4 separate regions of the Homo sapiens genome follow, and all the other regions are linked to region 1. Evidence: promoter capture Hi-C in 16 types of primary human blood cells and fetal thymus (Javierre and others, 2016). All regions are on one chromosome and are shown on one strand. Each heading gives the region's core, a stretch centred on a gene start or on the middle of the fragment in contact. The rest is flanking DNA. Distances are from core to core; before and after follow the strand shown.

What was found. The method cuts DNA at HindIII sites, captures the fragments that hold promoters and counts their contacts. A CHiCAGO score of 5 or more calls a contact.
Region 2: a fragment that was not itself captured here is called in contact with the fragment with the promoter of LEPR in region 1 in 1 of 17 cell types (monocytes); the score reaches 5.4 in monocytes.
Region 3: a contact is called between a fragment that was not itself captured here and the fragment with the promoter of LEPR in region 1, in 1 of 17 cell types (total CD8 T cells). The highest score is 6.2, in total CD8 T cells.
Region 4: a contact is called between a fragment that was not itself captured here and the fragment with the promoter of LEPR in region 1, in 1 of 17 cell types (non-activated CD4 T cells). The highest score is 6.0, in non-activated CD4 T cells.

The regions. Positions count from the first base shown.
Region 1 is chr1:65,418,869-65,422,552 of GRCh38, reverse strand. LEPR (leptin receptor) reads right to left here and starts at 1,885. Exons shown (of 20, transcript NM_002303.6): 1 at 1,813-1,885. It overlaps LEPROT (leptin receptor overlapping transcript), which reads right to left and starts at 1,885. Exons shown (of 4, transcript NM_017526.5): 1 at 1,813-1,885. The coding sequence starts at 1,828. RefSeq lists enhancers at 1,382-1,431, 1,505-2,038, 2,039-2,571 and silencers at 1,802-2,301, 2,322-2,391. The HindIII fragment of the contact is 9,332 bases long and covers 1-2,941 here.
Region 2 is chr1:64,869,005-64,873,042 of GRCh38, reverse strand. It overlaps JAK1 (Janus kinase 1), which reads left to right. Exons shown (of 25, transcript NM_002227.4): 6 at 3,569-3,732. Among named protein-coding and RNA genes, the nearest start is that of JAK1, 96 kb to the left of the region's middle. The HindIII fragment of the contact is 3,175 bases long and covers 566-3,740 here.
Region 3 is chr1:64,745,487-64,749,046 of GRCh38, reverse strand. All of the region lies in intron 1 of RAVER2 (ribonucleoprotein, PTB binding 2), which reads right to left. Among named protein-coding and RNA genes, the nearest start is that of RAVER2, 2.2 kb to the right of the region's middle. The HindIII fragment of the contact is 815 bases long and covers 1,903-2,717 here.
Region 4 is chr1:66,343,378-66,346,950 of GRCh38, reverse strand. All of the region lies in intron 8 of PDE4B (phosphodiesterase 4B), which reads right to left. Among named protein-coding and RNA genes, the nearest start is that of SGIP1, 190 kb to the left of the region's middle. The HindIII fragment of the contact is 926 bases long and covers 1,115-2,040 here.

The sequences.
Region 1 (3,684 bases), core at 636-3,135:
GAATCAATCCCACCTGCATCAGCTTCCTAGGGCTGCCGTTACAAAGTACCACAAACTGGATGGCTGAGAACAACAGAAATTTATCTTCTGACAGTTCTGGAGGCTGGACTTCTGAAATCAAGGTGTCAGCAGCGCCACCACACTCCCTCTGAAGGCTGTAGGGAAGCACCCTTCCTTGCCTCTTCCTAACACTCAGTGGTTGCCAGCATGGTTGCCAACAATCTTTGGTGCTCCTGACTTTGTAGCTGCATCACTCCAATTTCTGTCTCCGTCTTCCCATGGTATTCTCCCTGTATGTCTCTATGTCTAAATTCCCCTCTTCTTATAAGGACACCAGTCATTGGATTAGGGCCCACCTTAAACCAGTTATCATTTTAATTTGATTATATCTGCAAAGATACTACTTCCAAATAAGATCACATTCACAGGTACCAGGGAATTAGAGCTTGAACACATCTTTTTGGAGGACAAAATCCAACCCACCATCTGTTCTCCCACCGCATCTGAGCCCAACATAAACACTGACATAGTAATATAATTATTTCCAGCTCTGTCACCCACCAATAACTTCTCATTTATCTTTGTATCCTAAGTCTCTGGCATACAGTAGTTCCTCAATAAAAGTTGAACAATCTGTAAAATGCTTCCTTCCCTTAGTCCGTTTCCATTTCAGACTTCCTTTTTTTTCACTACATCACAATTTTCTAACACATTCACACATAAACGTGATCATGATTTGGTAGTTTCTGATCATGTGTAGTACTGAGACACTACTTTTCATCTGTTTTCGGCATTGGCTTCAAATGGATATATAACACAGTCGACACTCTCCAAGTAAACCATGTTTACTAAACTGATATTAAGTATAAAAGTCAGCCAGAAATAACGATAAAATGTCTGCTGCTAACAGCTCACATACTCGGATAAATTCATAGTGAACAGAGGCGTACTCGTATATATACTATCTACATGTTTATAGCAGATGTTAACTGGGGATATCTTTGGGTGCAAATTTCAAGGATGATATAAAAGCCAATATAAAAACAAGTCATGCTACTCTATTCGACAGATTAGAAATGGAATGTTTTCCTACCAAAATACAGGAAGCCTTGCAAAAAACCTTTTCCGTCTCGCATTGCTCTGAAGCCATACAGATAAGGGACGCGGTGTTTTTACCAACTGCCCCATGCAAAAAACACATACTACACACACACTGGTTTCTTCTCTGTCCATAAACAGAGAAAACACCGAAGAAAGCAGTATTAAAATTACACGTAATCTACTCTCCACGACTGCGAGAAACACCGTCTTTCTGGGTGCTTTCCATTGACACCCGCCCGCGGTCAACTCTGCCCAGTTGGAAAAATCATTAGGAAAAAGAGGATTAAGTTTCCCAATGCTAAGAACGCTGGAGACAAAGGGTCCTTTGTGGCAAATAGGAAACTGCGGAGGGGCAGAAAACCAGAAGAAAGGCGTTAGGGTGGCGTCAAGAAGTGGAAACCTTGTTTAAAAACTCAGGAGAGGTGGAGGGCGCCGCTCTCGCCGAGGGCTCAGGCTGGGGAGGGGTCTGGTGCCGCCACTGGAGAGCAGGAAGGCCAGCGGCCTTGCAAAAAGGGCCAAGGCTCCCCCGAAACGCCGCTCCACCCACACCCCAAGGGACGAAGGGAGCGGTCGATCGCCTCCCGAACCGGAGAGGCGGGAAGGGTGGTGAGGCCGTTCCCCAACGGCGCGCGGAAGGCGCAGCCCCAGGCTTGACCGGAACGGAGGTGGCAACCCCACCACACGACAAGCGAGCCGGGGACCGCGATGTACCTTTAACGCCCGCCATGTCTCCCGAACTGGGGCCGCGGCTGCTTCCGGCTTCCTGCCACGGCCCGGGCAGCCTGCCCAAGCCAGACCGGGAGTCGCCCCGCGGATCCCGAGCCCGCCCCGGCCACGCAGAGCCCCGCCCCCGCCGGTGCAGAACTCCGACCTTAGCTCGCAAACGCGGCGCCTGCTGCTCCAGACCCCGCCCCCACCACTCACAACCCCGCCCCCGCCGGTGCAGAACCCCGCCCCCAGCTCGCAGAGGCCGCGCCTGATAGTTCAGACCCGGCCTCGCTACTCAGAGCCCCGCCCCTGACAGTACAGAGCTCCTCCCCTACCTCGCGGAGGCAGCGCCTGCGGCTCCAGACCTCGCTACCGCTACTCGAAGCCCCGCCCCAGACAATGCAGAGCTCCTCCCCTAGCTCGCGGAGGCCTCCCCTGCTGGTCCCGCCCCAGCCCTCACCGGCCCAGAATTCCGCCCCCAACTCTCAGAGGCCGTCCCTGCTGGTCCCGACCCCGCCCCCGCCACCCAGAACTCCGCTCCTGCCAGTCTAGAACTCCGCCCCCAGCTCGCAGAGTCCATCTCCAGCCCTAAGGTCCCACCTGGTCCCACAGAGCTTTCCCAGAGTAACCCCAACCCAGTGCCCTGGGCCCTCCTCCTAGATCCTGAGCCCTCCAAGTAATCCTCAAGCCCGTTCAATGTGGGTTGGGACCTTGGCTCCGCCCCGACCGCGGGCCCAGAGTCTCTCCCCGGCCTCTCAGAACGCAGTGCACGCAGCGGGGGATCCTCCCTGAGCCTTCCTGAGAACGGAGATGTAGAAAGTGGGGAGAGGCAGGAGAGGGAAGGAGGGGAAAAGTTGCAATCGATGGGAGAGGGACACCGACTCACTAACCAGTGTTATGTTCCCTGAGCTCCCAAGTGCGTGCTAGTGTGCGAGTGTGTGCCTGTCTGCCTTCACATGACTGTGGCAGAGGAGAGGCGGGGTACCAGAGGACAGGCCCCTTAGGAAACACTCCTCATTAAGAACTTGATATTTGCATAGGTTTGCTTTGCTTAATAGCAACGCTTTACTGAAACTAGCGGGGTTTTTCTTTACTCCCTGGTTTATTTATAGAGACGAAGACCATATAAGCTTTTGTGTCCGAAGCTTTCATGAACCTTAAAAAAAAAAATAAAAAAAAAAAGCTATTATTTTTGTGCCTTGGGGCCTCAAAGTTTGCAGGTAACCAAGGCCAGTTTTTAGATCTCTGAGAGCCATTGTGTACTTATCTTACAGGAATGGAGAGTTCTGTTTTGGCAAAAGCAATCTAGAAGATCATTGAAACAGTCTGGTCCAAATGCTTCAACTTACATTTAAGGAAAGAGGTGCAGAAAGGATAGGACTTGCCTGTCACACAGCTCTTTGGAGGAGGTTGGATTCTGGGCCACTTCCCCTCATTCTAGCTGAGATCCACTCTACCTGATGGTGCCGTCCCTCTTCTCTTGCTTTTTCTCCGTTTTCAAAAGGACTGAAAGACAAAGGAATCTGTGGAAACCTAGCTTCCCCTGGCTACCTGAGAAGTATAAATTCTCACCACCATCATGTTTCATGATCCTTGCTCAGTTTACTTTTTCAAAATTGCACATTGAGCATGTTACTGTTTCAAGAAATGTCTATTTGTTGATTCAGTGGAGTATTTTTCTAGCTGTCAGTTTATTTTTCTAGCTCCTCTCATTTCTCCTCATAGACGGATGGCACACTCACTGAAAACAGCATTGTAATACCTGACTCACTGCTGATGCTTGGAGATCCAATACTACAGTACAGCACTTTTTACTTTGGAGCCTTCAATCTACTCAAGAGCATTGGCAGTGTATGCCACTTTGGTTTAAGGATT
Region 2 (4,038 bases), core at 904-3,403, 550 kb after region 1:
AGATGTAATTCAACAGGGCTGAAGAAGGCACTTCTCAGCAGCCGTAGTAATGTCTGGGGAGGAAGGAGATGGCCACTCTGTCACTGGTGGTAGGATAGAAAGATTAGACGCTAGAAAAAAAACAAAAGAGAAGGTAGAATCACCTGAAATTACATTTACTCTGAGATTGCTAAGATTTTTAGTAGTATGCTTCCTGATTTTAACATGCAAATTTAGATACTGTATAGATTTTGAAAATATTTTATGGTTCATTTTGTTTTGTAAACTGCTTTTTTATTCATCTGATTTTTTTTATTGTTTGTCCTTCAAATGTCAATTAAAATATTGATCTTCGTTGTTTTAATGACTTTGTAACAATTCATTTATTCAACAAATATTGACTGGATGTCTGCGTACTATTTGCCTCAGGCACTTGTACCTGCTAAGATGCTGGAGATGCTGGAGTGAACAAGACAGACATGGCCTCTGCATGCATCAGATGTACATCAAGTTAGAAAACAAGCAAATAAAATGATACATAGATAATACGTAAGAAATTATGGAAAGTACTGTGAAAGCAGAAGCTTGCAATAGAGAATATGGACAGGGGGGTTTGAATGGGAAGACCTAATTTAAATCATATGATCAGAGAAGGTCTCTCTAAGGAGGTAACATTTATAATGAATCCTGAAGAATAAAAAGGAATCTGCAATTCTAAGAGAGGGGTGGGGGACTATTTCTTCCATGTAGAGTGTCTCAGCAGCAGCACTACTGACCTTTTGGCCCAGATGATTCTTTGCTGTGATGGCCTGCCCTATGCATTGTAGGGTATTTACCAGCATCCCTGCCTCCACCCAGTAGATGCCAGTAGCACTCTCTCCTTAGCAGTGATGACCAAAAATGTCTTCAATATTGCCGACTCTCCTCTCAGCCTCAGTTGAAAAGATCTGATGTAGAGGGAACAGAATGGGGGAAGGCCCTGAGGGCCAGTAGAGCTGCAAGGAGAGACCATGTGGCTGCAGACCAGAGGAGGGTGATGGGGAACGAGGCTGGAGAGGCAGGTGGGGGCAGATTGCATACACAGAGCCTTGTAGGAGCTGGCAAGGGGTTATGCTTTAACCCTGAGTGTGGTGGGAAGCCATTTGGAAGGCTTCATTTTATGTATGTTTCAAGTCGATGATTCTTGTTACACGTGGAAAGCAGATTGTGCTGGGTCCAAGAGTACACTCGAAACATACAAGCTGAGAGTCTGCAGCAATGATCCTGGGAGAGAAAATGCTGGTTTGGCCTAGTGTAGCAACAGTGGCAGTGGAGCAAAATGAGTAGATCTGCTGTTCATCTTGAAGATAGAATTGATAGGATTTGCTGTTGAGTTGGATGTGGAAGCTGAGAGAATTTGAGGAATCAAAGATGATGACTGGGTTTCTGTTTTGGGTGATGTCGGATGGATAATGGAGTCATTCCCCACACAGGGAAGGTCTTGGGGGAAGAGGGTGGGGAAGGGGCAGAAATCAGGAGTCCTTTTTCGGAGATGCCTGTGAAACATACAAGTGGAGATTTCAAGTAGGAAATTGAGTAATGAGGCTGGAGTCCAGAGGAAAAGCCGTCATTTATTTAACTTAGTCACCCGTTCCTGGACATTTTCTGTTTTTCTCGTTTTCCCTTTTATGCTATTACTTTATAGTCTGTTGTGAACAACTGCATACGTAGGTGGTCCTGTACACGTTCTGTTTATTATTACCTTAGAGTATACCATTATGTGTGAGATCACACACGTATCAGTATATCTGTGTCAGAGTTATGTCCCACTGTAGGGCTTTAGTTACTAATTGTCCATTATCTCCATTCCATCTATGCCTTAGAACTGCCATAGAGACAACAGAGAAAGGGGACAGTGCACAGCCCCAGGCAGATACTGTGTGGAAAAAAAGAAAATGAACTGGCCATTTTTAGATGGTCTTTTTGGATTCAGCTTCCCAGTTTTGTGTATCCATAGCTGAGATTTATTCTTTACCTTTCCCGGGAGCAGAGGTGTAAAGGAAGAGTGTGCCATACTTGAAGAATAAGCATGGCGTTAGATTGACCTTTTGGAGGCTCAGGAATAAGTGACTTGAGGTAGCTGTACAGTGAATGTTTACAAAAAAACCACAGGCCAACAGGACAGTTTCAGGTTTTCCTTTGCTCTTCACACATTACTGGCATAGATCATTGTTCCTCAGAAGTTTTTGGAATGTCAGTGACCTTTCCTCACCTGAGAGAAACAAGATATCCCATGGTGAAAAGAAGAGAAACGGGAGCAGTGGGAGCCCTCCATCCAAAAACCATTAATCTGAAGTTCTTCAGGGAAAGAGAGCATCTCACATATGCAGGAACACTTCTCCCAGGCTTTGTGCCTGCCCTGCTCCAAGCTGGAGAAAGGCTTAAGAGTTCACACTTTAGTGTTCTATGTACTTTAAGTCATTTGATGAAAACCGAATGTGGCTGTAGCACGGCATTGAACAGTGGTCCTGGCCAGGTCTAGATTTAATCCCAGCCTACCACTTGCTAAGCCCTGGGCCCCCAGGGTACTCAATTCTTCTACTTGACTTGGGGTTTTATAACTGCCTGACGTTAGATACTCCTAGTCATTTATTCTTTTCTTTCTCCTTAGAGTGGAATCTCCAGGAGATCAGGAACGTGGTTTAGTTTATTGCTGTTTCCCTAGCACCTAGAATAACATCTAGCCCATAATTAGTTCTCAATAATTACCAAATGAAGGAGTGACTGAATAGGGGCTGTTTACTGTTTTGTGCCTTAGATTCCTCATCTGTTGGAGATGACGATGTTAACATCCACGTTGTAAGGTGTTATGAGGACTAAATAAAGGAGCCAAGCACTGTGTGGCAGCACTGAGGCAGGGTTTAATCAGTGGGAGCCGGCACTGGAATTATCGTTTTCACTCTGTACAAAGCTGGGCTGGGCACTGCTGGTTAGCCTTGTTTTAGTTTTTGTGTTTAAAGTTCCCGTTAGTTCTTAGAATGCTGTGCACCTCCATCAGTGGGGGGGTATATTTTGGTGACACATTTCACTATGGGAAACTCGAACGGTAGATGTGGGAAAATGTACATGTGGTGATGATGCACTGCGGAACGTTCCCCTTTCCCTAGAGCTACACCAGAATGGAGGGAGAGCCCCATCAACTCTGTACACCCAGCTCCTAGACAAGGCCATCTAAGCATGTTTGTGGAATTCATGCATGATCAGACCTCAGCCCAGTGTCACCTTCCCTTGCTCTGGCGCAGTCCAGGCCTAGTACACAGTGTTTGTCAGCGTCACTTCTATGGCGAAGGGACTTCGTATGTCTGTACTGTTCCCCAGTGCCTGGCATAGTGCTCAGTCAATGTTTTGTTAAATGAATGAGCGGGGGAGAACATCTCCTGAGCCCCTTCACACCCAACTCTGTTTAAAAGAGCTCTGATGCTAGAGAAACTGCCAATCTGATTCGTCTCGTTGCTGTGCTGCGTTTCTAGGCGGCCCCTCCCTGTGTAGTAGCCTTCTTGTCAAGATCAAAAACGGGTGGGCTCTCATGGTTTCTCCCCCTTGCTCCTAGGGACAGTATGATTTGGTGAAATGCCTGGCTCCTATTCGAGACCCCAAGACCGAGCAGGATGGACATGATATTGAGAACGAGTGTCTAGGGATGGCTGTCCTGGCCATCTCACACTATGCCATGATGAAGAAGATGCAGTTGCCAGAACTGCCCAAGGACATCAGGTAAAGCTTCCCACTGGCTGAAGAATTGATTGTGAGGATGGTGGTGTTTCTACATGTTCTTACACATTTCAGCTTAATTACTGCCAGGGTTTGGCTGACCTTTGCTCTCTATGAAACCCAGATCTTCCTTAGAATGTTTACTACATACACGTAGCCTAATTATAATTGTGTCTTGATTTTGGATGTTGGCTGCTAATCTCAGAAATTTGTGCTTGGGTGAAATTTCTGAGCTGAGGATGCCAATAAAATTAGTGGCCCCCAGGCCTTCTCCGTCCCCTCCTTGCCCATGGTGGACACTGTCGTCTA
Region 3 (3,560 bases), core at 1,061-3,560, 670 kb after region 1:
GCAACATAGAGATACGATGTCTCTACAAAAAATTAAAAAAAAAAAAATTAGCCTGGCATGGTGGCTTATGCCTGTAGTCCCAGCTACTTTAGAGGGTGAGAGAATCGCTTCAGCCTGGAAGGTCAAGGCTGCAGTGAGCAGTGATCGTTCCACCGCACTCCAGTCCAGGTGACAGAGCAAGTCCCTGTCTCAAAACAATAAATAAAAACTAAAAAGGAATGAGACTGGAAACGTAGGCAGGGGCCAACACACAAAAAGCCTAAGAATCTTAGACTGCTGTCCTATCATTTCATGCTTTTCAAACTCATATCTGTGTACTCCATGGTAATACAGAAATACAGAGAATCAAAAGTCAAATATAGTACATTTTCCATAAGTGTCAAGTTTATGAAAAAAAATTGGGAGTTAAATGCTATTTTTGTGTTAAATCCAATGTTACTAATAGAATATAAAATTAATATAAAATTCTCAGACAGAACACAAAACTTCAAAGCAATTTCAGTCTTGCAACAGTCTAATTCAGATTCACTGTTCTTTACTGTTAAGGACAATTTGAGGAAAAGTTTGAGAGGACGTGCAGCCAAAGGCTGGTTTTTTATGAGCAGGAGAGTGACATGATCAGATTTGTGCTTCAGGAGTATCCCTCAAGGGAAGTAGCATGCAGAAGGAGCTAAAATGTAAGAAACAGGACAGTAATGAAGGTAGGTGACAAACCGAAAAGTTGTTAACAGTGAACAAGAGACGAAAAGGACTTGAACCAGAGCTGAGGCTGTGAAAACAAAGAGGGCCAGGAAGATTCCAGAAAGCTTAGGCAGACCAGACAGGGCTTGACTGAATGCACAGTAATTATTCAGTGAGAAAGCTTTTGAGAACTTAATATAAAGGTGTTCACTTTTTTTTAGAGCCGGTACTTCTATAAGGTATTTGATAAACATACCTCTAAAAGCTTCCAGTTAAAAATACTTTCAGTATGCCTTTTAATTATAGGAACTATAAAGTTGTGGGATGCTATTATAAATCTGCTATACCAAAAATAAAACAAAATTTGAGATTTATGAAAACTACATTTAATAAAGAAAACACTCATATATTTCAAATGTTAAGAAAAAATTATTGGGTTTCTACTAGTAAGTTATTGATCAGTATTTTCTAGAGACATAAATACACAGTTTGAGAACTAGAGTTATGAATGTCTTTGATCCTTAAAGTGATATTCTAAAATAAAGAAATGAGGCCAGGCACAGTGGCTCACACCTGTAATCTCAGCACTTTGGGAGGCCGAGGCGTGTGGGATCACCTGAGGTCAGGAGTTCAAGACCGGCCTGGTCAACATGGCAAAACCACATCTCTACTAAAAAATACAAAAATTAGCCAGGCATGGTGGCAGGCTTATGTAATCCCAGCTACTTGGGAGGCTGAGGCAGGGAGAATCACTTGGACCTGGGAGGCAGAGGTTGCAGTGAGCTGAGGTCGCGCCACTGCACTCCAGCCTGGATGACAGAGCGAGACTCTGTCTCAGAAAAAAAAAAAAAGAAAGAAAGAAATGAATGAATAAACACAGTCTCTTCTGGAAAAGAACAAGAACTTAGTATTTCAAAAATATCTGATTACTTAATAATTGAACAAAAGCCATATTAACCATTTCATAAGGGTAAATATGTAGTTTTAGCACAGGTGATTTTATGTAGGCCTTACTAGCAAAAAGACACAAAATAAAATAAAGTGAAACTTTCATCAGTAAGTTGACAGTAAAATATAGTCACTAAGAAAAAGCAGACATTATAATTAAGGGAAATTGTTAAAACAAAAAATACAAAAAAATTCATGCAGAACATATGAAAATATTAGTTTAAGTAGATGAAATCTCAAAAATACAAATCCCAGTGTAATTCTGAGAAAGCTTCTATCACTAATTAAAACTGCTCCTTTTATTAGACCCTTTGATATATTTTTCATGTCTATTGCGAAGGGAAATGAGAAAGATACCAACAGCAAAGCAAGAATAGACAGAACGTCTTCAATTTGGGGTCTAAATATATTTAGAATTAATGCAAGGAATTGTGATAACAAAAACAGCTGACATTCTACAAAGACATTGAGATACTTCTCTATTTCTCTCCTCCTAGACTGTCTATACAAAGAGCTGCTATTTTTTAAATTTGTTTTTTTAAAAAATGCCATCTGCTTCTTCCAAGCCTCCTCCTTCCTGAGCTCCCTTACAGTCCTCTATTTGTATGGGCAGGGGAGGCTGCTTCCAAGAAATCAGTCCATTGCAGGTGTCCTTAACAGGTAGTATCACAAAACATTACCTGACAGATGGGAAGTGGACCATGGCGGAATGGAAAGAGTTGAAAGACAGATGAGATAAACAATACTGACAGACACTGCATTTTGAAACAAAATAGCCCCCCATGCCTACGGGTTATAAGGTTATATGTTCATATTTATTGTGAATGGCTATGTAAGGTCTCATTACATAGTAATGGGGCATTGGTCTCATTATTTTATAAGTCACATGGAAGAACTGCCATGCAATTGTCAATAGCCAGCCCTCTTGCAATTTCATGCATCCGGTTACAGGAGGAACTACAAATCCGCAACTACCAGGACAGCCCACCACACTCGGAGCAGTATATAAATTCAGGTTATATGTGAAACATGTGTGAACATCCAGACAGCTAAGAAATCCTGAAGAATCAAAGAAATGATTTCAAGCTTTTGATAAAACAAAAATATATATGCATAGGAAAAGAGAAAAGAACAACATCCCAGGATAACAATGGTTATCTTCAGGTATCAGAAATATGGGTAATTTCTGTGTCCCCTTTGTGCTTCTCTGTCTTTCCTAGCTCTCCTACAATGAGCATGCAGCTTTTGAAATCAGGGGAAAAAAAAAGTTAAATAGATGCAGAGTTTCTAATCTTAAAAGCAACAGTTAATCTGGATTAAATACACAGAGTAGCTATCTTTAAACCTCATCCAAGTCACTGAGAACAAACCCTCCAGTACTGTACTTGGCGTAGCAGGAGGCGGCTGCAAGGCTCCAAGGAGCGCAGCAATAACTCTATTCTGGGGCCTTAGCAAACTGAGAAGACAGAGTTGTTTCATAGAAACTTGGGCAAGTGCTTCTGCAACAACAGCGAAACTCACTCCCAGCTCTCTCGTGCCCCTGCCCCCTATGGCACTCCCGAGCACCGGGGACTATACGTTGGAGCCCTCGCCCCTGCCAAGGTGCTCCCGAAGCTTCGGCCCCCTCTACCCCCGCTCCCCCCCGCAAAATGTGTGCTCCACAACTCACCTCCACTCTCCTTCACCTCCTACTCCTCTACGGCCGTAGGGGAAGGAAAGACCGGGCCGAACTTGGAGGCAGCAGCCCCTGATTCCCGTGACCTTGGAGAAGCCGCTTCGCCACTCAGAGCCTCAGTTTCCCAATCTGCCCCCCTCCCTGGCAGGGCGTCTGCAGGCTAGAAACCCCAAGAACTCAGTCAAACCGAGGGGCCGCTCTCACCACTCGGCGCCGACCCACTCCCCAGGACCGCTCTGAGGCGCCCCCGATCCCA
Region 4 (3,573 bases), core at 328-2,827, 920 kb before region 1:
AAGTCATTGAGTCTCTTAGAGACTAGAATTTTCTATCTTTGAAATGGGAAGATTAGGAATAACATATGTGAAGTGGCTGCCAAGGTGTCTGAGACCAAGTGTGTGCTCTTTCTTCCACAGGATTTGTACTTGAAGCTAGGTTTTATCTGTAAATTTCAAAATAATCTGAGCTCATGGTACCTTTCTCACTTTGGCTTTGCTTTTGGGTGGAAGTTTCAGTTGGTTCTTTGATACTTGAACACCTTCTTTTCATTGTTGACAGCAGCATATATAATTAATTACAGAATTCCCATAGCATGCTGCTGCAGGTGTGATGCACTACTATGTCACATAGATTATGTGACACATGAGTTACTCATAGAAGTTCAGACTCTCTGGTTGACATTTAGATTATTCACCAGTCTAAGGAGCGTAAACAAGAATTGCCAGAAAGATAGATGAAGCAAGTCAAATGAAAAGCACCATAACTCAAAATGGTCTTATGCTTAAGTTAAACCGTAAAAAAAGAGTCTATTTGGAGAAATCCAGCTGTTGGTAACTATCCATTCATGCTTCTTTGGTTTAGCCAATTTTCTCAAATTAAGACACTTTACAACTTTTTATCTATTGACTAAAAGCTGTGACTGACCACAGACTACCTGACATGAGGATAACTGCACCAAGTATGCATTTTGCTCAGATTTTCACAGTTAAGATCAATGTGGTAACACATATGAATTAATTGAATATGTGGCTCAGGTGAGAGGAGTGTCACCAATATGCCAGGAATGAAAAACATAACCAAATGATGGCAGATAATTAGGCTGCTATTCTCCAACAGATATGGAGAGTGGCTGAATTACAAACACATGTGCTCATAAATAGGCTCCCCAGAGAGTGTGGAATAGCCATTGCTAGTCTCCAAAGGGCTTAGATTCTTGTCCACAGGATGCAGACTTTTTGAGAGAATAGTAAGCCAAATATTGCAAAACTGAACCAAAAGCCAACCGAACAAACAAAAACCCCAACCAAAACCATGCTTCACATTTCTGCTCACAGGAAGAAAGCACTGGTCCCTGACAACTTTGTTCTTTGTTATCTGACTCTGGATGAAAGAGAAGGGTAGGAATAAGCTTTCCCTTTTTTCAGGGTACTTTGGGGGTCATTGGGAACCAGATGAGGGTTTCTCATGCAACCTAACAATTAGAAAGCTGGAATTAGGCATGGCAGGCCCCTACATGTAGCCATTGCCGCACAACAGGAAACAGGATTCCAGGGTTCTAATGGATTTATCACTAACAAATACTTGGTCTTGGACAAATTAGATTAAGTTTCTGAACCTCATGCAATTGATCAAAAAATATTTATTCTAATGCCTACCATGTGTCTACAGCTAGTGTAACTGCTGGGGCTTCACTAGTGAACATGGTAGACACAATTCATGTCTTCAGTAACTTTACAGTCTAATGAAAGATATCAGTAAAAACCAAGTTCCATGATCAAAACCAAAAACCATAAATTGTGATAGTAAATTGCAAAACCAACAAGCAGCTGAATTAGGGTAATAAAAGAAGGTCTTTCTAAGAGGTGATATCTAAACTGAGGTCTGAAAAACAAGACTTCGCTGATTTCTAGCTTTAAAATTCTGTGATGATATGTTTTGTTAACAAGTTATACGAGAATATAATAAATTGTGGATTTCCCTTTAACTTTTATTTTTAACTCAACTTTTGAGCAAAGAGAACAACTTTGCTCAACTTTTGAGCAAAGAGAACAAGATTTGATTCTATGTCTTGACATTTAGTAGGTAAAGGACTTGGACAAATCGGTTATCTTTCCCGAATCTCAGTTTCATATCTGAAAATGGGGATACAATAAGACCTTCCTCAGGGTGAGTGTCATACGAGAACACAGGTAAGAGCGCTGTGTATGCAGGAAGGGATGCTTCAAATATGTTTTATTACCATGCTACATTGGATCTAACAACACAAAAATAAGAAACAGCTATAACTCAAAGAGAATAACGCTATTTAATGCTCTATCCTGGTACCACAGGAAGCTTTGAGAGCACATAAACTTTAAGTGAAGAAATGGGCCTTAGAAATCTCTGCACTGTCTCATAACTAATGTTCCCTCGGGCAGATGCAGAGTTTTCTGGGAAATGAAGTCCTGGATCATGTGATTAGATTTGAAAAGCAGTGATTGGAAATTTCTGAATTTTTCCTAATCTCTATTCCTCCTTTATTAACTTTACGAAAAGGAGCTCATATTTTGCTCATTTTAACCCAATGTATTTAACTTTTTTAAAACAAAGAGAATCTACTCCTACCAAGGAGTTCATACTTTTGTTTATTTTTGACAAAGTTCTTCTATTTTAGCACTGTATTAAAGGCCCTAAAGAGTCTTGAAAAGCAGTATGTGACCTTTCTCAGTTTGCAAATTTTACTATGGCAGACAACATTAGACAATGACTTTATCTTAATACTTTAAATATGTAAAAGAAAAAATATAAATACAAAAGCATTTTTAATTAATTCCAGTAAGTTGAAGCAAATTCTCTGAAATTAAATGATACTGATTTTTAAATATTTAAAAAACAATACTAGCAAATGTTTACAAGATATTCTCAAGGACACTCCCATGCAATGCACAAGAAAGATGCAAATAAACTTTGCACAACCAGTTCCTGAGTGTTAAAATACAGCAGGAAAAAATTCACTGGTAGCTCTCCCTGACAAGAACACAAATAATATACTGAGCCTGGCCAAGAAAAACTACCCATTGCATTAGTAAACATATATGTATCTAAATCATCTGACTCACTTATAGAATGGAGCCAGCAATAGCAATAACAGCAGACAAGGCTACAGGCATTGGGGGGCACTGTGTCCTTTCAGCTTGCTAAATGGGTAGCATCTGGCAGGTTAAATTAATCCTTGTGGATTATGAGTGAGAGATCCAGAGTGGGAGTTGGAGTCCATTTCATTAGTGACCCATTAGAAGGTCCCTAGCTTCTCACCATCATACAAAAGTATACTGGAAATGCACATTGCCACTGGATAGTCTAAAAATGTTTCATAACTTTAAATTTCTGAAAATACAAAAAAAAAAATTCTATCTTTATTATTGTTCTGTGCCCACCAGTGAGGTCATTACCCATGCCAGCATTCTTTAAAAGCAGGATAATCTATTAAAAGTGCCATGTCAACAAATTTCTTAAATGATCAAGAAAACTGCAGACAGCTTTTTAAAATAAACCAAAAATCAACTACCACCAACTGACAAAAACTTTCTTTGCTTTTCACTTCCATCCTTACAATTAAACAGAAAGAAATCTATGCCTCCTTGGCATGTATTAGCCCGAATCCTGCAAGGAAAGTGGAGTCTCAAACATTCAAACTTGCAATCTGAGCAGACATAAATAAAATCCCAGATAACTAAAATGTTAGCTATGGTATTAATTGATAAGATAGGTAAGAGGATGGCCTTTGAAAATGTTATGGAAGTTAGAATAGCTAAGGGAGGGTTTCAAAAAAAGCCCCACAGTTTGGCGTCCTAGGAGCAGAATCATAGCACAGGGTCTGATCTGATGAC